6 separate regions of the Homo sapiens genome follow, and regions 2, 3, 4, 5 and 6 are each linked to region 1. The links are contacts of gene promoters, found by promoter capture Hi-C in blood cells and fetal thymus (Javierre and others, 2016). All regions are on one chromosome and are shown on one strand. The core of a region is centred on a gene start or on the middle of the fragment in contact, and the rest is flanking DNA. Distances in the headings are between cores, read along the strand shown.

Region 1 (5,049 bases), core at 1,034-3,533:
ATTTTAAATGTTAGGATTAGGGATGCTAAATCAGTGAATATAATGCAGATATTCCAAAATCTTTTTTAAAAATCCAAAATCCAAAACACTTATGGTCCCAAGCATTTTAGATAAGGGTTACTCAAGAGTATGAGGGTATGTGCTTACATTATATGCAAATACAGTTGTACCAGTCCTGAGGTGAGTATTCATGGGGAATTGATACCAGGACCCCAGAGGATATCAAAATACACAGATGCTCAAATTCTTTATGTAAAATAGGATAGCGTTTGTATATAATCTGTGCACATCCTCCCAAATATTTTAAATCATCTCTATACTAATAATAATACAATGTAAATGCTGTGTAAATAGTTGTTAGACAAGAAATAAAAAGTCTGTACATGTTTAGACCATCAATTTTTTTCCAAATATTTTCAGTCCCAGGTTGGTTGAATCCACATACATGGAACCCATGGATACAGATCAAATGCTTTATTACACAACACCATTTTACATAGGGGATTTGAGCATCCTCTGGTTCTGGTATTTGTGGGAGGGTCCTGGAACCAATCCCCCACAGATACTGAGGGACAGCTATATGCTTTTCTTTAAAATTCTGAAAAGTCTTGGCTCTAGCTAATGTTAGTTGATTTCTATGAAGGCCATAATTTGTAATTTTGCTGAGGCTCACATTCAGTCAACCCATCCATTTTCTGTATAAGCACTAGTGAAAGTCACTTAGCCAGTTGGCTCTACACCCAAATCTCAATAACCTTGTGCTCTAATCTCTCACATATTGCATCTTGACTGCATTGTGCCAAGAGGTATTCACTAATGTAGATACTCTGTAAGGCTTCAAGTTTGTTTGTTTGTTTTTACCTCCAAAACATCTAAAACTTTTACCTCTAAAAACATTCAAGGTCAAGTGAATTATTTAGTGAACTGTCTTAAATGCCATTGTCATTAAGGTATATTTGTGCGTGTGTCCAGCACATTCATTGGGACTGACTGTGTGACAGACATTGTGCCAGGTTCTGGACTGACCCAGGAAGCTCACAACTTTGAGTGATACATGTCAATAATAAATACATGTATCTTCTGTTACTTAGCAGAAAAGAGGAAGCCCTAACAGCTTGCAGAAGTCATAGCAGTGAGGGAAGGAATGCTCTACAGAAGATGACAGATAAGATGAGTGATGTTATTAATAACTTGTGTATCGGCACAGAGACATTATGGTTTTTGTCATGTTTGGGGCACTACAAGTCACTGGACTACACACTGGATGCAGTTGAGAGAATAGTTCAGATGAGGTTGAAAACAAAAGCAAGGATTTTTTTAATAGTCAAAAGCTTCAAAATTATTTTAAGCAAGAATATGTATGTGAAACAAGTTTTTCTTGAGAAATTGCAGTATTTTCTTTAGAAATATATACTTGAATATATTTAAGTACTATAAACTGTGTTTCCAAAGTCAGCTATTGTGGAATTGGCTGGGTGCAGTGGCTCACGCGCCTGTAATCCCAGAACTTTGGGAGGCCAAGGCGGGTGGATCACCAGAGGTCAGGAGTTGGAGACCAGCCTGGCCAACATGGTGAAACCCCATGTCTACTAAAAATACAAAACTTAGCCTGGCGTCGTGGCAGGCGCCTGTAATCCCAGCTACTCCCGAGGCCTAGGTAGGAGAATGGCTTGAACAGGGGAAGTGGAGGTTGCAGCGAGCCAAGATGGTGCCACTGCACTCCAGCCTGGGCGACAGGGCGACTCTGTCTCAAAAAAAAAAGTCATCCATTGTGAATGAATGTACAAAACGCTTATTAATAAGTGTAATATTAAAATATATCTTTTCTGAAAGTTTTAGTGACAAAACAAATTAGTTACAGATTTAATGTTACCAAAATTCATGTACATTGAAAATTTCGGGACATTTTATACTGGTGGTGGTGGGGTGGCATCTTAGCTTGGGTTTAAATATCATTAGTAATCGGATAGCTCTGTAGATGATTATCAGTATATAAAGACATCGTGAGCAGTATTTAATAAGAAGAGTTGCTGAAGTGACTTTTGCAGGAGGATGAATGCTTTTTTTAAAAAAAAAGTTTATACGTGCCTCTTCGCTCTTCCAAAAAAAAAAGAGAGAAGAAAAAGAAGAATAAAACGAGAGACGAAGGTGGATAACACCTTTCTCTAGACCCCGGTGCCTCTCATTTCTCGGGCTGCAGGCGACGGCTGCTGGGCCTGCGCGGGGTGGAGCCGACGCTGACGCGCCCTGCGCCGCAAAGCATTGTGGGAGCTCGGGCCCGCTAGTGTCGTGGTTGGAGGCGAGGTGGGGCGGCCGTTTGTTTTCTCGTGGTCTCGAGCTCGCGCGCTCTCATCCCCTCCCCCGCGGCGTGCGGCGGGGCGGAGAAACGGCGGCGGCGGCGGCGGCATCGGCAGCAGTAGCAGAGGCTGTAGCATCGGACACCCTCCTCTCTCCCGCAATCCGGTTCCTCTTCCCCCTCCTTCTCACTGTTTGTTGTGTGTTTGATGTGTTAAAGCAGGAGCGAGAACCCGAGCAGCGCCATGAGCAACACTACCGTCGTCCCCAGCACTGCAGGTCCGGGCCCCAGCGGCGGGCCCGGTGGCGGAGGTGGTGGTGGCGGCGGAGGCGGCGGCACCGAGGTAATCCAGGTGACTAATGTCTCCCCGAGCGCTAGCTCTGAGCAGATGCGGACTCTCTTCGGTTTCCTAGGCAAGATCGACGAACTGCGCCTCTTCCCGCCGGAGTGAGTATCGTCCACCATCACTGTTCCTGCTAACGCCGCCTCAGCCTGGGCCTAACACACACAATTTCCTTAGGCCCCTGTCGCTGCTTCCCCGGGCCAGGCTGCTTGAGTGGCTGGTGGCTGGTGGATTTACTTAAGACGGTTGTGTTCCAGGCCTACAAAAAAATGCAGAGAGGCAGGGCCAGGGCTTTTTGGAATTAGGAAACACTGGCTGTTATTCTCGGGAAATTTTTTTTTTCCGCCTTAAATTGTGCCAACGTGGTCGTTTGGCTTTGGGGACTTAACGCAAGACTAACCGCAGTCTGTACGTCGTATATAGGTTAAATCCCTTTTTTAAAAAACTGAGTATTTGTTCTTTGCGTTCTTGGAAGAAAGGTAACAAAATTATTCATGCCTGTGTTAATTTGGTGTTAAACTTTGTAGGTTGTTCACTTATTGTTATTGCTGTTATGTGGTTCTGGCCCAGCAATATAATTCAAAGATCATATTCTTTTTGACAGACGCTTAGTTTAGTGTGAGCCTGATTACTTAATTTGTATAATGTCAAAAAACGGGTTATAAACCAGAGATTTTCCTTTGTTTGAATAATATACAGATTTGTGATATTTCACAGTTGTTCTTGAGAAGGATTTTTATAAATGTTGAAATTTGAATTAGAGTGTATGACTTTTTATCCTTTTTGTCTCACTTTTATTTTGAAAATTATTTCTATCGCAAGAATATTAAGTGGATGAATTGTAAAGAAAAAATAGTTCAAAGAAGCTAAGAAGTAAGATAAAGTGTACTACTAAAACAGACAATTGGAATAATAATAATAGTCTTGTGCTTTTTGGAAGACTTATTGGTGGAGAAGTGACAATTCAAATGTCATTATCAGTAAATATCATATATTGAGAATTTTATGATGTCACTTAAATACTAAACAGGAAATTGGAATCCTCTAAGAATCTACTGTTATGGTACGTGTAACCATTAACTTTCTGCTCAATAAAATAATTGACAAAAGTTTATCATAATGAGATATTTGTTAAGTATTAGCATATTTCATCACTTTCCACTTAAAATACTTTCACAAGATTATTGGTGTTTTCAAATTGGTATGTTTCTAATTTTTAGGGAAATGTACATGTGGAGAGAGGATTTACTTAGTTTGCATGACGTGGAGTTCTGGGAACAAACACGTAAATCTTTATTCCTGTTATTTTGACAGATACTTGATTTGGTAATGAAAGACAAATAGCTTTCATAACATGAACATACAAAAATAGATGCTTTGCTGTTGTTCAGTTTTCTCAAGACTTACTGTTTTAAGCTTGTAAAATTAATGAACAGTAAAATAGCAGAAAATAGTGATACATTGGATGATTTTAATAGTTTTATTAGTGAGATATTTGAGGTATTCGAATTACTACAATTCTTTCCAATCCTACAAGTTAAAAATTTTGTTATGGTTGCTGACTTTTAAATGCTGTTTATTCTCTGAAGGCAGTTTTATGATGCATTTAGAAAAAAGGTAAGAGAGATGTAGGCATTATACTGGTTCATCTTTTACCTAATGCATGACCAGTATACTAGAGGAAGTTGTGATGGACCAGAGTCTTTTTGTTTTGTAATCAAATGAATAGTTCCTTCATAACCAGGACAGCTAGTGTGTGCTTGAGAATGTCTCCCTCAACTATATGATCTGGGATATTCTGCATTAAAAGGACTCCCTTCCCAGTATTGGGAGAAAGAGAGATAAATTGACACATTTTTACTCTGACTCCTTCATTTATCTTCCCACATACAAGATCATTTTGTCTTTTAAAATGTACAAGGTTACAATAAGTTAAATGTTATTAGTGGCCTTCTACATTTGATCAGTAATGTAGATGGCTACTTTTATTTACTTGATGTTGCATTTTGTTTTTTTAACTATAAGTTTCAATACACTAATCTGACTGGCACAAGTTGCATATAGTTCCCAGTGGTCCACAGGGTTCATCATTCCAAAAATATTTATTCATAACATTGAATGGCTCAGATTACATAAAATTCTATCTGTTGTGAACAGGTCACCTGATTGTAACTATTATCTACACAGTTGGCCTTCTTCATCTCTGGGTTCCACATCCATGGATTCAGCCCACTGTGAATTGAAAATATAAGGAGAGAACGTCTGTACTGAACATGTACAGACTTTTTTCTTGTCATTCCCTAAACAGTACAGTATAGCAACTATTTACATTGTATTAGGTATTATAAGTAATCACGAGATTTAAAGTATGCAAGAGGATGTGCACAGGTAATATGCCATGATTTTATTT
Region 2 (5,049 bases), core at 1,064-3,563, about 17 Mb after region 1:
ATTACCTGTGAAAAAGAGAAGTTTTTCAACTTCAAATGAAGTTAATACTTCATTGTATTAAAATGTAGACTTAATTTTCTAGTGAGAAATGGAAAAGGACAGGGAATCCAAATGAAAACTATTTAACTGTGACTCGTTACTATAAAATGTCAGAATTTGTGGCTGGTAAAAAGTAGTTCTTCCCGAATTTCAAGAGCGCACTTGTTGCTAATATTGACTGGTCGAACAGTGCAGTGAAATATTTTCTCACATAAGTGATAGAACTATGTGCTTGGTAACTTTATTTTCTATAGGGTTTTAGCATTGTAAATAATATTTGTTGACTGTATTCTTACATCTCTATATGGATTTATGAGCACATTAGGAATAATCTTTTACATGGGGAAAATAATTGAGAATGGATTATGTAATCATCCATTGGTGAGAATTAATGTTAGTCATTATGTTCTTAAAACTCTACTAGACTAAACAACTAATTCCAGGGCCAAGGTTGAGACTGCTTTTTGGAATTTGGTAGTTTTTACAAGTAAGTTCCTGAAACCATGCAGCAATACCTGTAAGATGTTCCAGAGAATGCTAGATTTCCTCACTTCTGAAATCATTTGGAAAACCTCATAGTAGCTACTGTTTTGAGGACTTTGGGTTAATAGGAATACAGTTATTCTAGAATTGGTAATTGGTGCCTCACTTAGTCTTGAATAGGATGTCTAGTGCCATGGAGTAGTCACCTGAAATAGTTGATCTCAATTAAGATAATTCCAGGATGTCTGTCCACCACTCTGGTAGGCCTTCTAATAGCTTTTTGGCACTTAGAGAAATTGAAATAATAATGAATGTTCAAAGATTGCTCTCCAGAAGACCATTTTTGAAGGATGTACTTATAGATGAACTTCATAATCATGGTTCACTATAGCCTAGTTATTTTTAAGATCTACCCACCTACCAGTACCTGTACTTACGTATTCTGCCTTTCTGCCTGTTAACAATAGATGGTAACTGTCAGTGCTCCTGTTCGGTCATTTGTGCACCTGATTCTGTTGCCTCACTTACCTAAAGACATGGTTCCCGAAGCTTTCCCTCATTCTCCTGTCACAATGTATTCTTGAAAATTGCTAAGAGAGTGGATTTTAAGTGTTTTCACCATACCAAAAAAAAAAGTATGTGAGGTAATGCATGTTGTCTTAATTAGCTTGATTTAGCCATCCATGATATATACATGTTTTAAAACATGTTGTACATGATAAATATATACAGTTTTGTCAATTACAAATAAAAAAAAACTATCTTGGTAAATGTTCCAGGTGAACGTGAAAAATATGTATTCTGTTGTTATTGGCTGAAGTATGCTGTAGATGTCGGTTGGTAGTATTGTTATGGTGTTTTGTATTCTTGATTTTTTTCTGCCTCTTCATCAGTTATGGAGAGGGGTTTTGAAATCTTTGATAATTGTGGATTTGTCTGTTTTTCTTGTAGTTATGTCACTTTTTGCTTCATGTATTTTGAAGTGCTGTGATTAAGTATATGCACATTTAGGCTGTCATGTCTTCTTGATGGACCAACCCTTTTTTTTATACAAGATACCATCTTTATCCTTGGTAATATTCTTTGCTCTGAAACCTACTGCTGTGGTGTTAATGTCTCCCCCAAAATTCACATGTTGGAAACTTAATCTCCGATGCAACAGTATTGGGGCGGGAGGTGGAGGGTGTTTAGGTGATGAGGGCTCTCCCCTCATAACTGTATTAATACTGTTATAAAAGAGCTTGTGGCAGTGTGTTCTCTTTTTTCTACGTAAGAAGACAGCATTTGTCCCCCTTTTGCCATTTCTACCCCCAACCATGTGAGGATGCCACAAGAAGTCCCTCAACAGATGCTGGTGTCTTGATTTTGGACTTCTCAGTTTCCAGAACTGTGAAGAAATACATTTCTGTTTTCTATAAATTACCCAGTCTCAGGTATTTTGTTATAGTACCACACAATGGACTATGATACTTACTTTGTCTAATACTAATACAGACACTTCAGTTTTCTTTTGATTAGTGTCAGGTGGTATATCTTTTCCCATCCTGTTAATATTAACCTACTTGTGTATTTATATTTAAAGTGGATTTTTGGTAGACAGCATCTAATCTTTCATCTAATTTCACAATCTCTTTTGTTAATGGAATGTTTAGAACACTTAATGTGATTATTGATGTGGTTGGGTTTAAATTCGTGAGTTGCTATTTGTTTTCTGTTTATCTTAACTGTTCTGTGATTCCTTTTTTTCTGTTGTCTTTAGGATTAAAGGGGTATTTTTAAATTCCATTTTTTAATTTGATGACTTACTAGCAGTGCTCTTTGTTGTTGTTTTTTTTTTAAGTGGTTGCTTAAGGGTTTATGGTATACATGATAGAATTTCATGTGTAGTATAAGAACCTTAATATATTACCACTTTTTTCTGGGTTCTTGCTATCGTCATTATACATTTTACTTCTATACATGAGTCCTACAATACATTATTATTTTTGCTTTAACTTATATTTTAAAAATATATAAAATGTTTAAAAATTTTTTAAAAATTTGCTGACATATTTACCATTCCCAGTGTTCTTCATTTTGTGTGTGTGTGTGTGTGTGTGTGTGTATGCAGATTTTCATGTGGTACCATTTTTTTCACTCTGAAGAATTTCTTTTAACATTACTTACACTTAAAAATATACTGGTGATGAATTCTTTTCATTTTGTGTGTCTGAAAAAGTCTTTATTTGCTATAGTGTTTGAAGGATATTTTTGTTGGGTATAGAATTCTAAGCTGACATTTTTGTTGTTTCAGTACTTTAAAGATATTGCTTCATTGTCTTCTGGCTTGCATTGTTTCTGATGAGAAGGTTGCCATCATTCTTTGTTCAACTATATGTAGCGTGTCTTTTATTTTTCCTCTTTTGCCTACTTTTAAGAGTTTCACTAGGTTTTTAATTATTTAATTATTAAATTATGTTTCTTGTGCCCTTGTATTATGTTTCTTGTGCCTGGGGTTTGTTGAGCTTCTTGGATCTGTGAGTTTACAGTTTTTATTACATTTAAACATTTTTGGCTATTATTTCTTCACGTTAGTTTTTCTATGCTGCTTCTCCTCTCAGGAACTCAAAATACACTTACATTAGACCACATGAAATTGTTCTACAGTTCAGTGATGTTCTATTCATCATTCTCAGTCTTTTTGTGTGTGTGTGTGTTGTTTTAGATAGTTTTTACTGCTAGGTCTTTAATTCACCAATCCTTCTGCAGTATGTAATCCACTTTTAATATTACCCAGTTTATTTTTTATCTCAGGCGTTGCCTCCCACTCCTCCCCCTGCCCTTCTAGAAGTTTAATATAGGTCTTTAAAAAATTATGTATCATTTCTTTCCTTAACATCCTGTATTAGCCCGTTTTGACGCCCTGAGACTGAGTAACTTACAAAAGAAAGAGGCTTAATTGGACTTACAGTTCACATGGCTGGGGAAGCCTCACAACTGTGGCAGAAGGCAAGGAGAAGCAAGTCACATCTTATGGTGGCAGGCAAAAAATGAGAAAGCTTATGCAGGGGAACGCCTTTTTTTTTTTTTTTTGAGACAGAGTCTTACTCTGTCACCCAGGCTGGAGTGCAGTGGCGCAATCTCGGCTCACTGCAAGCTCCGCCTCTTGGGTTCACGCCATTCTCCTGCCTCAGCCTCCCGAGTAGCTGGGACTACAGGTGCCTGCCACCACGCCTGGCCAATATTTTGTATTTTTAGTAGAGATGGGGTTTCACTGTGTTAGCCAGGCTGGTCTTGATCTCCTGACCTCATGATCCACCCACCTTGGCCTCCCAAAGTGCTGGGATTACAGGTGTGAGCCACTTCGCCTGGCGGGAATGCCTCTTTTTAAAACCATCAGATATTTTGAGACTTATTCACTATCATGGGAACAGCATGGGAAAGACTTGCCCCCATGATTCAGTTACCTCCCACCAGGTCCCTCCCACAACACAGGGGAATTCAAGATGGGATTTGTGTGGGGACACAGCCAATCCATATCATTCCACCCCTGGCCCCTCCCAAATCTCATGTCCTCACATTTCAAAACCAATCATGCCTTCCCACAGTCCCCCAAAGTCTTAACTCATTTCAACATTAACTCAAAAGTCCACAGTCCAAAGTCTCATCTGAGACAAGGCAAGTCCCTTCTGCCTATGAGCCTGTAAAATCAAAAGCAAGTTAGTTACTTCCTAGATACATTGGGTAAATACAGCCATTCCAAGTGGGAGAAATTGGCCAAAACAAAGGTGTTACAGGCCCCATGCAAGTCTGAAATCCAGCGGGGCAGTGAAATCTTAAACCTTCAAAATGATATCCTTTGACTCCATGTCTCACATCCAGGTCACACTGATGCAAGAGTTGGGCTCCCATGGCCTTGGGCAGCTCCACCCCTTTGGCTTTGCATGATATAGCCCCCCACTCCTGGCTACTTTCACAGGCTGGCATTGAGTGTCTGTGGCTTTTCCAGGTGCACGGTGCAAACTGTCAGTGGATCTACCATTCTGAGGTCTAGAGAACAGTGGCCCTCTTCTCACAGCGCCACTAGGTGGTGCCCCAGTAGGGAATCTGTGTGGGGGCTGCAACCCCACATTTCCCTTCCACACTGCCCTAGCAGAGGTTCTCCATGAGGGCCCCGCCCCACAGCAAACTTCTGCTTGGGTATCCAGGTGTTTCCATACATCTTCTGAAATCTAGGCTGAGGTTCTCAAACCTCAGTTCTTGACTTCTGTGCACTCGCAGGCTCAACACCATGTGGAAGCTGCCAAGGCTTGGGGATTGCACCCTCTGAAGGCATGGCCCGAGCTCTACGTTGGCCCTTTTCAGCCATGGCAGGAGGTCTGGGACAAAGGGTGCCAAGTCCCTAGGTTGCACATAGCACGGGGACCCTGGGCCTGGCCCACGAAACCATTTTTTCCTTCTAAACCTCTGGGCCTGTGATGGGGGGGCACTGACATGGAGACCTCTGACATGCCTTGGAGACATTTTCCCCATTGTCTAGGGGATTAA
Region 3 (5,049 bases), core at 1,186-3,685, about 17 Mb after region 1:
TAATAATAACACATCATTATGCCTGAAAGCTTTACAAACCATAATACTTCAAACAGAATTCAGCATGTACAAGTCAAAGACAGTACTGGAAGGAAACAACAGAAATATGCTAACATTTTTTTCTCACTACAAACACAGGTATCTTACCAATTTAGTTTTAACTGGACAACTCAAATGATCTTTCCAGTCTACTTTATAATTTAAATAAATCTAAGAGTTTTGATGAAAATATTTAAAAGATGAGCAAGTTCACTATTAATTTGTTTGAACAGCAGGTTTTAAAACATAGTAGGTTTACCTGGAGAGACTGAACTACCTATCCTTGGCTCTGTTTTCAGATGTTAAAGGTGAGGTTAGGTGTCTCAAATTACTAGCAATAGGTGTGTAAACTAACAGTCCATATTCTTTTTAACCAGATTTCATGTTACAATTTATTGTAGACAATTAAGTGCCAGGTATTATGTGCTTTACTTTCATTTCAAGTTTCATCCAACACTGGGTTCTTACTATAAATGAACAAAAGCACCTATTATTTTTTGGCTTCATTTGGCCAGAAGTTAGGAAGACTGGAGAACTACAGGATCAAAGCATGTTATAGGGATTCTACTTCCCCTTTGCTTGACAATCATGGTGGAATGGGATCCTGGTATGCAACCATACTTCTCCTTCATATTTGCTTTGATTGAACTAATAGGCCAGACAAGAAATCAGTTGAGTTTTACTAAAAAATGTAAAAGCTTAGAGGCTTTTTTACACTTAAATTGATTAAGCAACTTACATTTTTACCTTATCTCAACTAAACCATCCAATGGAAGGAATATACTAGAAAACAGTACCTTTTTGGTTTCAAATTGTGCTTCCTCCTGACAGCATCCTCTGCAATCAGGATCCAGCTGAAGCAGGTTGAACTGTCCGAGAAGATCACAAGAGCTGCAAAGCAAGTTGCTAGAAAAGCCTAACTCTCTGCATGCCTCCGATGAAAACTCTGCCCCAAAAGCAGACACCTGAAAATAAAAAATGGGAAATAAAACACAATTCCATATTTATACTACAAAGCTTTCCAAAAAGAGAACACGGGGTTGTCAAAAACTAACACATTGAAGACAAGTTACTGAAATGTTTCATTTGGAGATAAATTCTTTTAAATTTTAATTTAATTTTATTTTTTTTTGAGACGGAGTCTTGCTGTCGCCAGGCTGGAGGGCAGTGGTGCAACCTCGGCTCACTGCAACCTCTGCCACCTGGGTTCAAGTGATTCTCCTGCCTCAGCCTCCCTAGTAGCTGGGATTACAGGCGCATGCCACCACGCCCAGCTAATTTTTGTATTTTTAATAGAGACGGGGGCCACGATGGTCTTGATCTCCTGACCTCGTGATCCGCCCACCTTGGCTTCCCAAAGTGTTGGGATTACAGGCATGAGCCACCTCGCCCAGCAATAAATTCTTTCTTAAACTCTGTAACCTTATGTAATAGTCTGGTTTCTCCCACCTCCCCTACAAGCTTTTTTTCTTAAACATCCATCATCTTTCAGCTTAGCTAAAATATGGATTAAGAAGAAAAGGCATATCATTGTTCATGATGTTTATCACATAAATATTTTCTTAAAGATTTATTGTTTTAAAAAGGAATTTTCTTATAAGAAAAAATAATTTTTGTTTCATTTTAAGAACTCAACATCTGTTCATATGGGTCTATGGAGTAAGATTAGCTGTAGGGTTTATCTACAGTCACATCCAGCAGAAGAAGGACGGGAAAGGGGATGGTGCAGGCAAGAGCACGCCAGAATTCAAACTTTTGGTTTTAGGTAATAGTGCCACCAGTTACAAGATTCGTGACCCTGGGCAAACTATCCTCCCTAAGCTTTAATTTCCTCACTCATAAATTAAGGGGCAATACTTCCTACATAAAACAGATTGCTATGGTTACCTTACATAAATCGTTACATTAAATCAGAGATGATTTAATCAATCAGAATGGCTGACAAAAGCAGGCTTTCAACAATATTCCCTTCCCTCATCCATTCTTTTTTACCTATCAGTGAATGTGGTATACCTCCATTTGTCTAAGGCCAATCCCTCTACTTCCTCTTTGGATTCTATCTTAACAGATACTTCATTTCATCAATACTTCAACCTTTAGCTATATTTAAGCCCTATGGTCCTAACTGCTCTTCCCACGTTCTGTCATTTCTGAATTGTTACTATAACTTGGTTTCTATTATCTTTATTTTTTCCTAACACCCCAAACTCATTAATATAGCCTGGTTTCTGCTCCTACTACTCCACAAAATTTGCCCAAAATTACCAAATGCAAAGGCATTCAAAACTGTTCTGCTTCAACTACCCCGTCCAAAGGCCTGTCCTCCTTTACTTTTCTCTTCTATGCATCTCTTAAATGCTATTGTTTCCCACAGTTCTGTTTTTGGCTCTCTCTTAGCTTTACATGCCTTCTATTTATTACTGCATATTTATCCATGGCTTCAGATATGCATTTATTGAAAACTCTCAAGTATTTTTCTTGAATGTCAGGCTTCCAAAGCCAACAGTCCACTCAATATCACATTTAGGTGTTGAATATGCATTGCAAGTTCAAAATCTGCAACACTGAAACTTATATTTTTCTTAAATCTATTCTTCCTAAGGTATTCAGTATCTTAGTAAAATGGCATCATTTCTCTGACAAGCTAGTTGCCCAGATCAGTCATCCTACTGACCTACACTCCATATTCTTCACCATTCTCACAACCAATTAATATATTTTTATAATTCTCTTAAAAAGCTCTCAAGTCTTTTCCTGCCTCAGTGGCTTAAATGCTCACTGCCAAGGCTACTTCTCATTACTTCCTCAATTCCTCCTGCTATAAGGAATTCCTATAGTATCTTGAAGTATAAAAGCCCTACTCAAACACACTTTTGCTCACAGTCTCCCCTATATTTAAGGTTCTGTTTCCACTTCTTCACCTTGTAACATCTTACTTATTTTCAAGAATCTAATCAGTATTAGTCTTTTAGGAAGCTTTCACTGACCAAAAAAATCAGATCTCAATCATTAGCCAGAGTACTTTTCTTCTCCGAGAAACTTGTGCACAGTTGTAAAACAGTACCGTTCGTGACACTGTACTATGTAAATCTGACTCCTCAACAATACTATGAACTCTTCTGAAGGCAAGCATTAAGTTGTTTCTCTGTCTTTCCCTCACTTGTGACAGTTTTCATATATCTGTTGGATAAATAAATCGCACAAAGCCATAGCGTCAGGTAGGGGAAATTTCAGATTGACTGCAACTGACTGATCTTCTAGACTAAGGGTATGCAAACTTTATGTGAAGGGCCAGATAATTTTGTTAGGCTTTTGTGGCCATATGGTTTCTGTACAACTATCTAACTCAGCCATGGCAGTGCAAAAACTAGTCACAGATAACACATGAATGAATGAATGTGTCTGTGTTCCAATGAAACTTTGCTTCATTTTGTTATGTTAATTTGTTCTACAAAAACTGGGTTGACTGAATTTGGCCCACCAGCTGCAGTGTGTCAATCCTTTTCTAAACTCACCAGGTAGATTAATATCCAGTGGCATTTCCCAATGAAAAGAAAATTTAAGTACTTGTTGGCATATTCACCCAAAATGCTGACGTGATATTTTATACATCTTTAATCTTATCTCTGTAATAATGTCATATGTATAATTTTTCAAAACAGATGAGACATCCCAGCCTAGTGGGAGGGAACTGTGACTTTATTGGTTAATTTGTGTGTTTGATCTCTCTAGTTTAACTATAAGACACTTGCTACCATACTAGTACTTTGGGTAATTTCTCCATCAGTAAAGTGATCTGCCTCATTTATTTCACAGGATAATTTGAAAATCAAATGTAACAATGAGCAGATTGTGTTTTCCAAAGACAAGACAATCAATATGTATCAAAGGCTGCATCAATGTGTACATATCATTTCACATGTTCTTACAATGTTAGTCCTCCACTGAGAAGTGGGGTCTATGTTCCCTCCCCTTGAATCTGGGCACGGGCCATGACTGTTCTGAACAACAGAGTTTAAAGGAAGTTATGTGATTCTGAGGGTAGGTCGTAAAAGAGCAAACAGCCTCTGCCTGGCTAGTATTCTTTCTTTCTAGGAACATCAACTTTGGAACTTAGCCAACCTGCTGTAAAGAAGTCTATACAAGAGAGACAACATGGAAGGGCCCATGTAGAGAGCAACTGAAAACTCCAGCTGACAACCAGTATCAGCTACTAGACATGTGAGTAAACCACCTTCAGATTTCAGGCCCTAGTGTTTCAACTGAGGTCTGAGACATCATAGAACAGACAAGCCATCCCTGCTGTGCCCTGTCAGAATTGCTAACTCACAAGATTTGAAAGCAAAATAATCAATTGTTTTACGTCACTAAATTTTAGGGTAATTCTGTTTTGCAGCCATAGTTACTGAAAGAGGCAATAAGAGTGAAATCACTTTGGAAACTGTGAACTCGTTAACAAACGTATAAAACTGTTACCAAAACCTTTTAAACAACAAAATAAGAACCTCAAATGAATAATCATGCAATTATACTATTTGGTTTTATTCTGGCATTTATGGAGCACCTACTGACAGGTAGCATGACTATGCAAAACATCATGTATTTCAAAGTCTTAACACACATCTAGATTCAAATGCCATCACAGAGCTACCTTATTTCTAAACAGGGAGTATTATCATTTATCTCGTGGAATTCTGAGGATTAAAGAAGCAAGTGCACAGAAAGCATCTAGCATCCCGCCCAGTACACAGTAGGTACTGAATACATGTTGGTATTAGGCTCACCTTCCACTGTGAAAGCACACTTAAAAATTACAAAACACTATATAAATGTTTTTATCACTATACTAGACATGGGATAAAAGATAAGTATAGGGGAGATACAAAGTATCGAGTTTCTTAGGTAAACTACTTTTTTCTAGCTGTTCTATCACTGGTTTTGCAGACTTAAGGCTTTGAATTTAAGGACATCAGAAAGTATTTTTAAGTACCTGACAGATAAATGCTAATA
Region 4 (5,049 bases), core at 1-2,500, about 16 Mb after region 1:
ATTCAGGGACACCACTGTGTCCACCATTAAAGAATTTCCCCTTTAATGGTGGACACGGTGGTGTGATCCTTTTGTAGAGACGAGCATAGGTTATGGCAAATATACCTACTTTAAAAACAGTGCTCTGGGAAGAGAGTAAGTGCTTTTCCACATAAAGATCTAAAATAGACAATAAATGAGAAATAGGGTTTTTTATTATATATTCATTTTTCCATATTTCTGGAAAATGAAACAGACATGGAGTATTTCAAAGCTGGGAGAGATCATTATATTGGAGTTACCTTAGAAAGAGGGGGCTGTTTCTGCCACCACAACAAAGAATGAAACAACACAAATATTTACGTTTTCTTCTTGTCCTCATAATGCTTTTACTGCACTCGTCTTTCAACCTTTAACATCTACTGCATCTGTGACTGTTGTTTCAGTAAAACACGGAAGCTTGAATGTAAGCTCATTTCATTGCCTGCTGCACAACCACACAAAACAGCATTTTCTTATTCTTGAAATATGATAGCAACGTCTCCTTCCATGCTTGTACCTGTTTTAATTCCTTTCAAGCAGAGGCTGTATCGTGAAAGATGCTTAAGAAGTTACTTGGAACGACAGGATTTGGAACGGATGTCACATCATATTCTCATTTGTTATTAAAATTAGTCACGCTTAATTGTTAAGGACTATCCTGTGTCGCTCGCCATCTTTGTGTCCTCCACCTGGCACTTTGCTTTCACACAGTAGGCACATAGCGTTGAGGTCCCGGAAGGTTGTCAAGTAACCGGCCAGGAGCTTGAGGGCAGGACATTGTCTCCGACACTTGATTCAGTGCCTGGCACACAGGAGGTATTCAATTATGCTGAATGAATGAGCAACCGGCTCGGTGGGGGACAGTAAACCCAACCCTATTCCGCGAACGTTTGCTGAGCGGCATCCAGGCCTCAGGGACCAAGTGTGTCGCGCGGTGCCATACCGTGACCGGGACCTGTTATTTCTAATGTCCAGATATTGTAATTCTATGCTGTAACTCCTATATTTCCTCTTAAAACAAAAAGAGAAATGTGGGTCGTGTTCGCTCTGGGTTCTCGTTAAGTGCAAGCATACAGAGGCGCCGAGACCCCGCGGCTCGCCCTCGCCGCTTCCTCCACAGGAGCCGGGCGGAGCTCCCGGCGCGCCCCGGGGCTGCGCCGCCGCAATCCTCAAGGGGTCGCTGTTCCCGCGATAACCTCGAGAAAGGCTCCGCCCCGCGGCCCGCGCTTGTTTTTCCCTTGGGACCCGGGTCCACACGGCGGGGTCGCCCGTCCATCTCCGGCTCGCCCGCGGGGCCCATCGTCGACGTTAGCGGCCGTTCTCCGAGCCGACTGACCCATCCTTGGCGCTGCCGCCGCGCGCTTGTTCTCCTCCCTCGCCCCGCCTTCATCCTCCCCGTTCACGGAAACGACAGCTGCGGCTGCGGGGCTGGCGCCGCCTCCCTCCACCTACCACGTCTGCCCTCGCCGCTCTAGCCCTGCGCCCCAGCCCGGCCGCGGCACCTCCGCCTCGCCGCCGCTAGGTCGGCCGGCTCCGCCCGGCTGCCGCCTAGGATGAATATCATGGACTTCAACGTGAAGAAGCTGGCGGCCGACGCAGGCACCTTCCTCAGTCGCGCCGTGCAGGTACCCTGGTGCTGGGGGGAAAAGGGGTGGCGGCGCCCGGGAAGGTTGAGGGAGGGGACCGCAGCTCGACGCGGCGCCCCCGGGCCTCGCCGACCACCCAGCGGGCCTGCTGCAGCCAGAGGCCTGGGAGATGGGCGCGGCCTGGTCCCCTCCCCGGGCCCGGCGGCGGATTTCTGCCCCGCTCCTGCCCAACCGCCGCTCCCTGGGAAGCGAGGCGGGGTGGGGACGGGGCCGGGAGCTTCCTCCCACCCCTGGGGAACACTAAGGCTGCACTGTCCGCCTTTCTGATACCACGACGTCAGTGCTCCTGTGGCCTCCACCCCGGGGCTGGCGGAGGCTTGCGAGTCCTTTGCGGTAACCGAGACACAGGCCATTCTTGCACTACCCCCCACCCTTTCCTTTCGTCTCTCACCCTCCCCTCGGAGTCCAAGAAGGGAGTTTCCTTTTCCTGTCCTTCAACCCAGAGAGCTGCCAACACAGTTCCCTCCGGCCCTCTTTCTCCCTGAAAGGACTGTCCTGGGCTTGGCAGCCCGCGGGGGAAATGGAGATCGCCAGTTGGCGTTGAGACTTTGCCAAGACCACAAGAAACCTAGGGTTGGGGGGTTTTCACTCTTTTTCAAAATGGGAAGCACCAGCTGTAGATCAAGGAGAGATGCGGGGATATTGTTATGGCTGTAGTCACAGTAGTATGTTTTAAATATACTTTAAGGGGAAAAGTTGACTACCTCTCGATATTCTACAATCAAGGAAGTGTCAGTACTAAGGAACTTGGGCCGTTTCCCACAGTCATCACCCATGTTATGCCAACTCAGTAAATCTGTGAACAGATGTAAATTTCACAACATGAATTATAAACAATCTGGTGTTTACGGTCACGGTAGCAACAACATTCTCTTTTGTAAAAAGAAAACAAAAATAATTTTCTAATATGCATACCAAATTGGTGCTGAAATGTAAATCTGTTCTGTGGCTTTACTACTTTCCTTGCCTTTGCCCCAATTTTGTTGGCACAGTTGATCCTACATTGCACTATCCCTGGCAAAAGAGTAGTAGAGCTAGAGCAAGGTAATAGCTGCCTATATTATGAAAAACCTGTCAAGCACTTTGTAATGCATTTGACATATTATCTCCAGTCTTTTCCATAACTTTGCCAGATAGATGTTATTAACCCCTTTTATATATGTGAGGAAGCAGCCTTACTGAGGTTAAGAAACTTGCACAACTAGTAAATAACCAGGTGCTGTCTGACCTAGTACTCCCAGCTGCTTTTTCTTCCGGGATAAGCATTCCAGATTTAAGATAGCTAGAATAATAGAATGCTGTGGCCTAGAGAGACCTTAAAAATCATCTGGTTCAATCTGAGCATTTCCATATCAACAAGCAAGTAACACTTTAGAGATGGTAAATTCCTTCTAGCTTTTGATTTCTAAGTTCTAAAATCTGCATGGTGAGTAATAAGCTAGCTGCCTTAACCCTTTTCTTCCCTTCCTTCCCTAAAATATGATATATTGTAGACGTTGAGCCTTTATAGTTAAAATAATGTTTTGATTTAAATTCACTAGCTTCTAATAGTTCAAAGACAAGGTGCAAGAAGAATGAGTGATTGAGGGTGTGAAATGAATTTTGATGTGTGAGACACTTGTACACTTTTAACATTGACTGCAATAGAGGACTAGAGCCCTTGGTATTTTTGTTTGTCCTAGTGCTCATTACCTATAATTCTAGATGCTTATGAGGATTTGACACTGTATAATGCTACTCTTTTAAATACAGTTAAATATGTTTCAGACGTATAACTCACACCCCTTAAAGAGGACACATTTACTAGAATTTAGTCTGATTTAAATTGTGGATAGACTCAATTTAAAAAATTAAATCTAGCAAAGCTCTCAAAATGTGTACTTCCCAAAGAATTTTAATTCCTTGTTTCAAATTCTTTAGGAAAAAGTTTTAAATTTTATGCTAATCTGTTAGCCATCAAATAATTTTCTTTTCAGTTTTAAATATTTAAGTGTCTACTGCATGTCTGATGTCTGCTTGTGGCTACTGTGGACACTGGTGATACAGCAGTGAATAAAATCAGCAAAGTGTCTGCCCTCCTGAAGCTTACATTGTAGCGGAAGATAAGCTTGTAAATACATCAGGTGGTGATAAAAATCATGGCCAGAAGAATAGAATAACGCAGAGATGGTGGTTGTTAATATCTTTATTAGTATTTTCTAACATTAGTATCGTGTATAGATAGGATGGTCAGGGCAAGTCTTTCTAATAGGATGAAATTCAAGAGACCTCAAGGAAGTGACAGACCTAGTTTTTTTTGGAATAAAAGTATTTCAGGCAGCAGGAAGAAGTACAAAGACTGAAGTTTCAGGGGCATTAAGGAGACCAATGAAGGAGCTGTGGCCATAATACACGTAAAAGGCGATTGTAACTTAGATTACAGTGGTAGCAGTGAAGGTTCCAAATTATCCAGTATTGGCTGTTGGATTGGCTGTGAGGTATGAGAGAAAGATGAGTTAAGGATGACTCCAAGGTTTTGGCTTGAGCCGTTTATTAAGGGAAAAATTTTAGGAGAAACAGACTTCTTTAATGTGTCTGTAATTGTTAGAGATACATACTGAAATGTTTATGGATAAACTTATATCATATCTGAGATTTGGTTTTTACAGGGTATTTTTTTTTTTTTTTTTTTTTGAGATGGAGTTTGGCTCTTGTTGCCCAGGCTGGAGTGCAATGGCGCGATCTCAGCTCATTGCAACCTTCGCCTCCCCGATTCAAGCCAATCTCCTGCCTCCGTCTTTCAAGTAACTGGAATTACAGGCAGGCTCCACCACGCCCAGCTAATTTTGCATTTTTAGTAGAGATGGGGTTTCACCATGTTGGTCAGGCTGGTCTTGAACTCCTGACCTCAGGATCCACCTGCTTCGGCCTCCCAAAGTGCTGGGATTACAGGTGTGAGCCACCACACCAGTTGAGATTAGCGTTTGAATATTTCAAAAGAAAAAAACAGAAGTCGCTGAAACAACAGCAACGGAATGTTGATAGTTGTGGAAGGTTGGTTATGGGTTCATGAGGTTTCATTATACTGTTATACTTTTGTATGTTTGACATTTTCCATAATACTTTTTTAAAGATAAAATTTGTAAGAAAAAAAGGATGCTTCTAAAATAGAACATGTGAAATTTGGAATGCTGTGTGGTAGTTTTCAACAAAACACTGCTTTCTCATCTCAGTATTTATTTCATCACTGAGTTCCTACATTAAATTGCATTGACATCAGTATAATGCCAAAGTACCAAGTTTCATGCTAAGAATAGCTTAAGAGCTATGCCAATATCTCTTTATAAGCAGTAAGAACAGTAGAGAGAGAAACATTCACGTTTATAAATAATAATTTTCATTC
Region 5 (5,049 bases), core at 865-3,364, about 12 Mb before region 1:
GACAGGGTCTCACTTTGTCGTTGTCCAGGCTGGAGTGCAGTGGTGCCACCTCGGCTCACTGCAACCTCGCCTCTTGGGTTCAAGCAATTCTCGTGCCTCAGTCTCCTCAGTAGCTGGGATTACAAGCATGCATTACCACATCTGGCTAATTTTTGTATTTTTAGTAGAGACGGGGTTTCGGCAAATTGCCCAGGCTAGTCTCGAACTCCTGGCCTCAAGTGATCTGCTCACCTCGGTCTCCCAAAGTGTTGGGATTATAGGCCTGAGCCACCGCACCTGGCCAGCCCAGCTAATTTTTTAATTTTTTTCTGTAGACACGGTGTGTCACTATGTTGCCCAGGCTGGTTTTTAACTCCTGGGCTCAACTGATCATACTGCACTGCGAAGTGTTGGGATTACAGTCATGAGCCACCACGCCTGGACTTTCGTTGGTTTTCCATGGCTTCCACAAACTCCTTCATATGGCGAACCAGGCCCTCCTACTACTTCTCCAGGCACCTTCCCCAACCCTCCTTCACCCATTCCTAAATTCCAAACTCCCTGATTTACTTACACCCCACAGAAAAAGAAAGCTCTCATCTCTATGTCTATGCACATCTATTCACACTGCTTAGCTCTGCACATGACAAGCAAACTCCTTCTCATTTCTCATGACTTGTGTAAAAATTTTAAAAGAATCCTATTGACACAGAAGGTATAAGCAAAAGCCCCAACACTACGCATATATAATTAAAACCATTATCATTTCTATCACTGACAACCAAGTGTCGTTTTGAATAGAAACAGTGCCTGATATTTTGTAATACCCGGTTTATCCTGAAGAAAGGGTAAAGAATGAGGGAAGAAATCTATTCATGCATTTTCAAGGAGCCAATCACTAGACTACAGAGCACATAAGAAAAAAAAAAATCAGGGCTGACATATTCTCTTCAAAGAGCTGTGGCAGGTCAACAAACATAGCTGGCAGACTTCTAGGATAACAAAATTAATGATGTGAGAAAATTAAACAATTTGGATTGTTAGCCTCTACGAACATTTCAGATCCTTAATTCTTTAAGTACCATCTCCGAATGAGCAAGTGCAGCACTCACTGGCACTCACAGCTGAAGCCTGGAAGACAGTTTTAACAACTCTTGCTGAAAATGACTATTTCTTCTCTAGTTTCTATGGAAACAGCTGTCAGATTGGCAAAAATAGGACATGTACTTTAAAATAATCATTCAAGCAAAGTACACACATGATGGAAGGCTTTAAAAAAGAATTGGACGGCAGCAGACTTGGTTCTTAAGCTTCCAAATGTCAGACTACACCCCTTCACCCCGGCTGAGAATGACGGAGATGAACCTAAATCCTTTTAGCGAGGGTTGCACGACCTTGATCAACGCCTGAATGCCAAATAAGGGATTTTCATCTCCCTGGACTACAATTTCTTGTTGAGGATTGCACGGCACAATAAAACTGTTGCTCCACACACAGGCGACATTTAAACAGTATACAGTGAGTTCTGTAGACGAGTTTACGAGGAAATTGTTAAAACTCCCCGGAACTGCTTAGACGGGGAATGTTCTGGTTTGCCCTGCCGAGTTTAGGCTGGAAAACGTGTTCAGTTTCTCCTGAAGAGGGAAGGGGTGAAAGAGACGAATGCCCGACGCGCCGGGAGGCGGTCCCCTCTGGCAGAGGTGCCGGGTGAGGAGCCCGAAGCCCCGCGGGTGAGAAACCCTGCTCTGAAAGCGGAGCCGCGGATAAGGGCGGGCTGAGGGGGAGGGCAGGCGGCCCACGAAAGTACTGCCACGGGGCAGACACACGGGGTCACCGGCGTGCCCCGGGCAAGGCTAGGGGAGAACCGGGCTCCCCCAGGACAGATCCCCTCCGTCTCCCGCCCCGGCGCCCCCCGCCCCTCCCCTCCACGCAGCCTTATCGCCCACCCACGCCTCCTCCCGTACCCCCATCCCCAAGGATCCCCACTCCTTGCCCGGGCGCCCCCGCAGGCGCTCTGCGCTCCGCCCCCTCCCCACTGCCGCACTCTGCCTCCTCCCCTGGGCACGATCCTACTCGGAAAAGCTGGGGAAAAGCGTCACCGTGAGGACTGACTCAAGCAGAAGCGAAAGCGGTGACACCGCAGACCCGACCTATGCGCAGGCGCGCACCCGCACTTCCTGCCCGCCATACCGGCCGGGGCGCCCTTCGCTCCGCCCACACCCGGCAGTCAATACAGCCGCCCAGAGTCGTTCTCCCAGCTGCCCCGGGCCCCGCGGAGACTGTGGCGCTCTAGCGCCTCCGTGTGGCTTAAGGCGGGACATGGCCCTGGGCTGGGCTGCTTGCCTAGGAACAACTTTCTCCCGTCTTTGGTGAGTTGGGTCCTCTAAAGAATGATCCACGCAAGGCTGTGTCCGTTGTAGTCTCTACGGCAGTACCGGCCAAAAGGGAAGAGACTCGAAGACTGCCAAAAGACGAAGGCTTCCTGGTTCTGAATCTGCATTCATAGAAATAGTCTTTGGAGTATGGGAACAGTGCTTTCATATGATTTTTGGAGGGACGCATTTTAAGAAAGATGAAGTATAATCTTAAGTGTCTGGAGGTTAAAGTAGCTGGCTCCAAAATTATGTGTATAGTATGTTTCATTCATTTCACCAAAACATATTTCTTGAGCATCAACTACATTTTAAGTGCCAAGGATGTAGCAGTGAACAAGACAGACCTGAATTTCGTGAACTTTATATCACAGTGAGGAAAGACAGGCGATTAAAAAAAAGTGTACAAATAAACACAAATAAATAAAAGTGTACAAATAAGCCAGTACAAATAAACACTGGATTGTGATGGATGAGTAGTGAGGTCTCATATTAGTTTATTATGTTTACACTCTGTGCACAATGAAAACATCTCAAAGGACATAAACACTATGTCAAAGGACATAAACACTATGAACAATTTTAGGTATCTCTTTTGGAAAATGTGTAAGTTACTGTTTCGTTTATCTTATGTGTATTTTATGATTTGCCTTTTACTTTGAAAGGGATATCCTGGAAAACCCCTGACAACTGGACCCCTAAAAACTGAAGTAGGAGGTCCTTCAGTCTTCGTAGGGTTTATCTCCCAAACTCTGGAGTGCACATGTCTTACCAAAGTTTCCAGCATGCTAGCCACCTCTTGCTCATCTTGCCTGGTTAGCATAATGTCATTGGTGAAATAGATGGGTGTGATGTTCTCTGGAATTTCCAGTTGATCCAGCTCCTTTTGGACTGCGCAGAGCCATTATGTCATTATCCTGGGTCCACCTGATTTCCAAAGGGGCCAGACTGGCAAGTTAAGTAGAGATATGGCAGGGATGACCAACCACTCTTGTATATTTCAGGTCTTTAATTATGACATTAATCTCCACCATCATCTCACTATCCCCTCAGATGAAATATCGGTTTTGATTTATTATCTTCACTTGGAAAGAAGGACAGCTTCAGAGGCTTCCCATTGGCTTTCCCCACCATGATAACTCAAGACCAAGGACCCTGAGCTTCTTACCAATGTGGAGATTGCTCCAGCTGCCCAATATGTACTCCCAATTATGCACTCAGGAACTAAGAAAATGACTACTGGATGGGTCAGTGTATTCCTGGACCCACTGTAAGCTGGACATTATCCAGGACTCTGCTTATTACCTGATCCCCATAAGCCCCCACACTTAGAGAGGAGCCATGTGTGTTACATACTTTGGGTAACACCTGTGAAATGTCTGGGTATTCCTCTTTCCTCAACATAAAATCAGTCAAGAAAATGGCCGTGGGACACAGACCAAAGAGTAATCATTAATTACAGTAAATATTTGTTTCAGTATTGCAGGATTCTTCTTTATAGGGACCCAACAACCTCTTAAGTCAACAGATTCTGTGGTCTCAGTGTGAAGATAGGCTCAGGTCTGAGACTTGAGCAATGAGCAGTGCCTTTTATTAAGCAACTACTCCCTGCATAGGATAAATAGCTTCTTGTCTTCCTCCAGTTGTAGATGTTAGGCAACACTCTTGTTGGCTGCCCGTCTGTTTTTCCCCTAGGGAGACCTTATGCTATTAAAGCCCTCCACAACCTCCTGTGGATCAAGCCCCCTTGGCTGCTCCTCTGCCCTTGGCAGATGTTACAGTAATTACATCTTCTGGTGTCCTCATGGTTAAAGCCACCACCTGGCTTCTACTACTTCAGGATCCTGTTATCCCAATGGATATTATCAAGCCCAGCCCTGTGATTGCCTCTCCTACCGTCAGCCCTTCCCTCCAGAGGAGAGCCTTCTCTGAACTTCTTAGTGATGCTAGTGCCCCTCACGCCAGTGCATTCCCCATGGCCATAGAATATGATGCATCCTCTGGGCCTCCCATGGAACATTCCCCTCTGTCTGCCTTCGGGCTCTACACACAAAAAAAATTCTTTCAGGCAAGTCCACTTCCCTCAGCTCCTCTGTCCTTCTACCATTTGCAAGGGCAATTCGGGCATTCCTGCTTTACTCTGCATGCACTATGGCTTTCTCTCAGCTTCTAATAGTCACCTAGCAGTGAGTTTACCCATCTTCTACAGTCCCAAGTCCCAAGAAAGTGCCCCCAAGACAATGAATTTTTATTTAGCCAGGCTTGTTCTGGAATAGGAATTAAAAGAAATTAAAGAATGTGTAAACAGAAACTCAGTTCTATGTAAGAAAACCCACCTCCCCCCGAGAAAGAGAAAGAGCTGGAGTCCTTTAAATATTAACTGCCTGTTTTTCTGTGGCTAGTGAGCCTTATCTCTCCCTTTCCCAGGCATTGTAAAGACCCTGTTTCTTTAGCTGTGCGCTGCAAGGTCACTAGACAGATAAACTCAAGCCATTAAGACACGTTTTTCCTTGAAAAGTAAGAAATGATGTAATGCATGCCTCAATTAATTAAATAACTGTCTTTGTTTCTTGCTTCTGTAACATGCTTCTCCCTGCACAGATCTCCCCCAACCCCATAAAATGCTTAAAAGGTAACTTGACTCTTTGTTCGGGGCTCAGTCCTTTGGATGTTAATCCGACTGGGCCGGTGCACCTAA
Region 6 (5,049 bases), core at 496-2,995, about 12 Mb before region 1:
TGTTCCATATCTAAAATAACTTTTTAAAATAAATAAGTGCCTGAAAGGGGTACAGGTTACATTTTCCATTTATACGATCAACTGAACATGTTCTGTGCTAATTTCAACACTTTTTTTAACTCAGATTCCCTATTTTGCAATATCCATTATGTATCTCACAGCAGAGACTTTTACTCTATCAGATATCACAGTGAACTGACCTAAAAGACTAAATCGATTAAATCACAAATGAGGAAGTCCTGCAACAAATGTCTTCTTTGTTAAGATGTTATAAGCCCCAAGTTCTAACTACCCGTTTCATTACTCATCAGAGTTTCTCTTGCATATGTATATGCTGCACACATCAACAAACTCTGGTTTTCTCCTGTTAATGTCGTTGTCAGTTTTTATTTCATTTTTGAGACAGGGTCTCACTCTGTTACCCAGGCTGAGTACAGTGGTGTGATCACGGCTCATGCAGCCTCAACCTCCTAGGCTTAAGCAATCCTCCCACCTCAGCCTTCCCAGTAGCTGGGACTACAGGTACGCACCACTTTGCCGGGCTAATTTTTTATTTTTTGTAGAGATGGGGTCTCACTATGTTGCCTACCCTCCAACTAATGCCTTCTGACACCTCCCACATCCAGGTGTCAAAGGCTGTGCACGTCATAACACTGAAGCTGTGGAGGGAAAAAAAAAAATGACAACTTGAGGGAGCTCCTGTGTGTTCTCAAGCACAGAAAGGAACACATAATTTGACAGCTAAAAGGGACTGTTAGGTATCAAGTCTAACTATAATTTAATACGTAAATCCTCTCTGCAATATCCCCAACATAAGATATTCTCTACTTCCTAAGGTAGCTAAATAATTCTATATTTTTAGAATTCTTAAAACTATGAAAAAAACAAAAAACTAGCCACAACTTAGGAAAAGTTTTGTCAGATTTACAGGCCAGGCAGTCATGCCTTACGGTAGCAAATCATTTTCAAAGATCTCACCCAAGTGATAAACCTTAATTTAAGTAAATTTCTGATACTCATTAGAAAATATGACATATGGACAATTTCTTAAACTCAAAGTGCTTCTGAAAATTATTAGTAAATATAAATTAATTATTTAAGATTGCTCTTAACACCTAGCTGAGATCAACTTGATGAAAAACTACTTATCTTTATTGTGGGATGAAGACAAATAGATAACATTGGTAGGTAGCATGGAGCATTTGTGGAGACAGGACAGATCTGGATTAAGATATGATTAGTAGAAGAGTAGGGACTTGGGCACTAGAAAAATTGGGGAAAGAACACGAACAAGAGGAGCAAAGAAGCCAGGCACAGTGGCACATGTATGTGGTCCTAGCTACTCAGGAGACTGAGGCAAGGGGATCACCTGAACTCAGGAGTTCAAAGCCTGGGCAGCATAACGAGACCTTGTTTCTTAAAAAAAAAAAAAGAAGATAAAAAAAGGAGCAAAGAAAATATTCACCAGTTTCAAAATAGAGCAAAGGGAGAGTCCCATGCCCAAAAAAGGGAAGGAAAAAAGCCTTTCTTCATCAATCAGTACCACCCAAGTCCCTACTCCCAAGCCTGAGAGAATTCAGTCTGTAAGCAAACTTTATCAATGGTTTAAAAAAAAGCTGAAAATACAACTAATAATTCCATGCTTGTTGTGTAGGAAAACATTCCAAGTTTAAAATCTCCCTTAATGTAAATAGACAGAGGTCTACATATCTCTATATAAATAAATACATATTTACTTATATATGGACAAATATCTCTGGAAGAAAACACAAAGAAGACACTGGTTACCCCGGGCGAAGCGAACTGAAGGCTAAGATGAGAGTGAGAAGACTTAATACCCTATAACTTTAGGAACCTTTTGAATTTTAAACCATGCAAATGTAGTCCCCATAAGTACCACCAACATAAAAAATAACAACCCAAAAATGAACCTTAAATTCAATCTATTTGCAGATGTAAGCATATATGTTAGTACAAACTGCACCATGTTGTAAGCTCCCTGCTATTTTGCAGACCTTTGTCGAAGTGAAACATTTCACAGGGGTTCAGGCCATGAGAAGTATCCTGCCTAACCACCTGACTACAAGACAAACAAAGGCCCAACTAAAGAAATATCCCTATCCTATCTTGCTTGACAAAGGTCCAAAAAACACCTGAACACCACAACGACATCCCGCCGGAACAAGGGCCAGAACTGCCTCATCATGGGAACATCTTATCAATGTCCTGCTGGGCAGCAAGCCATACTGCCCAGACCTCTTCTGCCGATACCTATAAATTGCCCCAGGCTATAAGCAGCAGCGGGCTCTGGCATTAGGTTGGTCTCCCACTTCTGTAGGTTTTATGCTGGACATAAAGCCTGCATTTGCTGCTGAGCTGCCCTCCTTCTGCGTGTGTGTGTGTGTCTTTCTTTAACCCTCACCTCCTCTTTAAGACCTAACATTATGTATCTGGTCTTTGATAAGGGGCAAAACACCAAAGTTGTTAGGAATCTTAAATAAATGATTAATTAAAGTTAGATCATATAAATGATAATCATACAACACACTGAAATATCAATATAAAAAAAAAATCACCAGTATAGGAACAAGTCTTGAAGAGATAAAAACCTCAAGATCATTTATATATTTATATAAGAATATCATACAGTATACAGATCTCATGGTGTTGACTAAAATACAAACACAAACATTTTATTCTCATCATCTGTAGAAATGTTAATGATACTTCAATTAGCATACATAAATTTTATATATACAAATATTCTATATATGTAATGTATAAATATACATAATTTCAAAATTACTTAGAACATTACTAGGTATCATGCACCTTAAAGGAAAAGATATAAACTAATCTTGATAGTAAAAAAATTAAAAAAAAATCCTAAGTATTTTTTTTTAAAGTTTCTTCATATTAAGGGGTATTTTCAGAATTAGAAACCAGAATACGTATCTTTTCCATTATGCAACTTGTGAACATTTAAATAGATTTCAGTGTAATAGACATTCACGCAAAAAAAAAATGTTTCTGGTCTTCATTTAGAGTCGCTGAAATATTTAGACAGTGTATACAATGCCAAATTATCTGAATAAAAACTCAGCTGATCACCCCAACAGTTTCAAATATACAAGTTTTTATTTTATTTCAAAAAAAAAAAGAGATTACTAAATAATTTTGCCTTTTAATCCAGGTAGTTGGTGTCATGTATACAGATATACCTCAATTTCTTGGATTTTGATAATACCACAAGAACGTGAAAACTACAGATCTAAATCTATTTTAGTATTTTAGTACCTTAGATCTAAGTTAAAAGGAATTCTCTTGCACTACACTATAAACATCATTACTCTAACTACAGAAGAACTAAAGGTGTTAAAACTGTAATTAAAAAGAAAATTCAGGTCTCTATAAATTAATTTAACCTTATAACTTTACCAATATTTGCTTCTAGAATTATTTTACTAAAAATTTAAAATTGCTCTATTTACCAGCCCTTGTTCAAACAGCTCTTTTTCTTCTATCGTCCACTTTACTGAGTAACTGGCTGGTTTTGTAGGAGAGTGTACCCTGAGGGGAAAAAAAGGAATTGCAAAAAAAATTTCTGAAATGGAACATTCCATATTTATGTAACTAAAGGTTATAGATAGCCATGGGCTAAATTCAATACTTTGAGTCTAGGAATTAAAAATAAACAAACAAACAAAACAAGAAGGCTACAGCCTCTACCTGGGGGCAGAGATTTACCCTGTCACGTGTCTCTAGCTCAGGATGATGGGAGCCCCAAAAGACATAATCCTTGGGTCTGAGTGAGGGTAACACTAAAAGACATCAAAGGAAGTCAATGTGATAACAAACAAATAGGCTCCCTTAGACTGGATACAAAGCAGCAGGTGTTAATACATTCCCAAATCCTGAAAGGCATGTAAGAGTTTAAATTGGTTCCACAAATACTATCTCTTTAGTTCTTTCATGTAAATCCATGTAAATATTTAGAAAAGAAGTCAAAAACTACAGCATTGTATTTATTGCTTTTAAAATTCATTATCTCAAGGAATTAAAAATAAAACTGATGAAGCTCACTAATTTAAGCAACCCATTAATCCTTTTGTTAACTTCATTTCATTGTTTATTCAGCAAAATACAAAAGCAAAAGGCTGCTCAGTACTCAACCTCTTGGGCAATTGCAAATACGTAAACCACCCTTTAAAGGACCATAAACTTCCAAAGTCATAAATGCTAAATAATGTTTTTTCAATTATAGGGAAAGGATATTTTTAAAATAGTTAATTTCTCCAGATAATTTTTGAAAGCCACAAATCCAAATGAAAATTTTGTTGAAAATAAGTGAAAATTAACTGACAGAGTAAAAGAAATCAAGTCAATTCCAATATATCACATAACAGCTTCTCAAAATTTCCCCATAAACCCCTGGACAACCATATTTTTCACAATCTGAAAGAATTGCCTACATAGGGCCATGAAAGAAATTCTGGCAAGTAAATAACACCATAAAATTATACTTGTGCCACTCCAACATCTTTATTAAAAAAACTGTTTTTATATCTACTTTAAGGTCAAGAGGGCTTTTCCACAGGCCAACTATAATTAAAAAAAAATTATTCCATAATTTTTAACTAATGAAAACAGATTTATAAATATAAAATATAAGTACATACATGATTTTTGCTGTTTTCTGCAGACTGCATCACATGAAAAAAGAAAATAAGGAAGCGTGTGAGGTTTCTAAAACTACAATCCAGACTTTTAGAAATATTATAAATTGATTTTACCTCTTCATGTATTTTTTATCATCTTCCTTTTGATCAAGCCAGACTTTTTCCGGTTGTGATTTTTTAGATAAATAATATCTGTGTAACTATCAAGGAAACTTTTTAAACAATATTACAGTCATGTAATTTTTACATTACTTATACAAAACGTGTGCTACATAAATGTTATTAATAGTTCCCTTGTCTTCCCAATTAGAAGTGACTACAAGAAACAGCCTCCATGTTTAAATCAAGCTTGTCCAATCCTCTGCCTGCA

The links. The method cuts DNA at HindIII sites, captures the fragments that hold promoters and counts their contacts. A CHiCAGO score of 5 or more calls a contact.
Region 2: a contact is called between a fragment that was not itself captured here and the fragment with the promoter of SRSF11 in region 1, in 1 of 17 cell types (total CD4 T cells). The highest score is 6.4, in total CD4 T cells.
Region 3: a contact is called between a fragment that was not itself captured here and the fragment with the promoter of SRSF11 in region 1, in 1 of 17 cell types (total CD4 T cells). The highest score is 6.0, in total CD4 T cells.
Region 4: a contact is called between the fragment with the promoter of SH3GLB1 here and the fragment with the promoter of SRSF11 in region 1, in 1 of 17 cell types (total CD4 T cells). The highest score is 10.9, in total CD4 T cells.
Region 5: a contact is called between the fragment with the promoter of OMA1 here and the fragment with the promoter of SRSF11 in region 1, in 1 of 17 cell types (total B cells). The highest score is 5.2, in total B cells.
Region 6: a contact is called between a fragment that was not itself captured here and the fragment with the promoter of SRSF11 in region 1, in 1 of 17 cell types (activated CD4 T cells). The highest score is 5.6, in activated CD4 T cells.

The regions. Positions count from the first base shown.
Region 1 is chr1:70,219,097-70,224,145 of GRCh38, forward strand. SRSF11 (serine and arginine rich splicing factor 11) reads left to right here and starts at 2,284. Exons shown (of 12, transcript NM_001350605.2): 1 at 2,284-2,743. The coding sequence starts at 2,541. RefSeq lists an enhancer at 2,178-2,723 and a silencer at 2,619-2,668. The HindIII fragment of the contact is 2,724 bases long and covers 1,330-4,053 here.
Region 2 is chr1:86,919,821-86,924,869 of GRCh38, forward strand. All of the region lies in intron 1 of HS2ST1 (heparan sulfate 2-O-sulfotransferase 1), which reads left to right. Among named protein-coding and RNA genes, the nearest start is that of HS2ST1, 7.7 kb to the left of the region's middle. RefSeq lists a silencer at 3,700-3,878. The HindIII fragment of the contact is 2,489 bases long and covers 1,070-3,558 here.
Region 3 is chr1:86,902,445-86,907,493 of GRCh38, forward strand. It overlaps SELENOF (selenoprotein F), which reads right to left. Exons shown (of 5, transcript NM_004261.5): 2 at 837-1,004. Among named protein-coding and RNA genes, the nearest start is that of SELENOF, 9.2 kb to the right of the region's middle. The HindIII fragment of the contact is 1,155 bases long and covers 1,859-3,013 here.
Region 4 is chr1:86,703,326-86,708,374 of GRCh38, forward strand. It overlaps SH3GLB1 (SH3 domain containing GRB2 like, endophilin B1), which reads left to right and starts at 1,251. Exons shown (of 9, transcript NM_016009.5): 1 at 1,251-1,646. The coding sequence starts at 1,575. It overlaps CLCA4-AS1 (CLCA4 antisense RNA 1), which reads right to left and starts at 1,168. Exons shown (of 5, transcript NR_135837.1): 1 at 282-1,168. RefSeq lists enhancers at 455-524, 1,089-1,590 and a silencer at 1,415-1,904. The HindIII fragment of the contact is 3,313 bases long and covers 437-3,749 here.
Region 5 is chr1:58,544,612-58,549,660 of GRCh38, forward strand. OMA1 (OMA1 zinc metallopeptidase) reads right to left here and starts at 2,115. Exons shown (of 9, transcript NM_145243.5): 1 at 2,092-2,115. It also overlaps a transcript of DAB1 not described here. RefSeq lists enhancers at 1,524-2,150, 2,364-2,553 and silencers at 1,764-1,853, 1,864-1,963. The HindIII fragment of the contact is 5,811 bases long and covers 1,288-5,049 here.
Region 6 is chr1:58,685,547-58,690,595 of GRCh38, forward strand. It overlaps MYSM1 (Myb like, SWIRM and MPN domains 1), which reads right to left. Exons shown (of 20, transcript NM_001085487.3): 4 at 4,794-4,871; 5 at 4,680-4,703; 6 at 3,492-3,570. Among named protein-coding and RNA genes, the nearest start is that of MYSM1, 12 kb to the right of the region's middle. The HindIII fragment of the contact is 6,559 bases long and covers 1-5,025 here.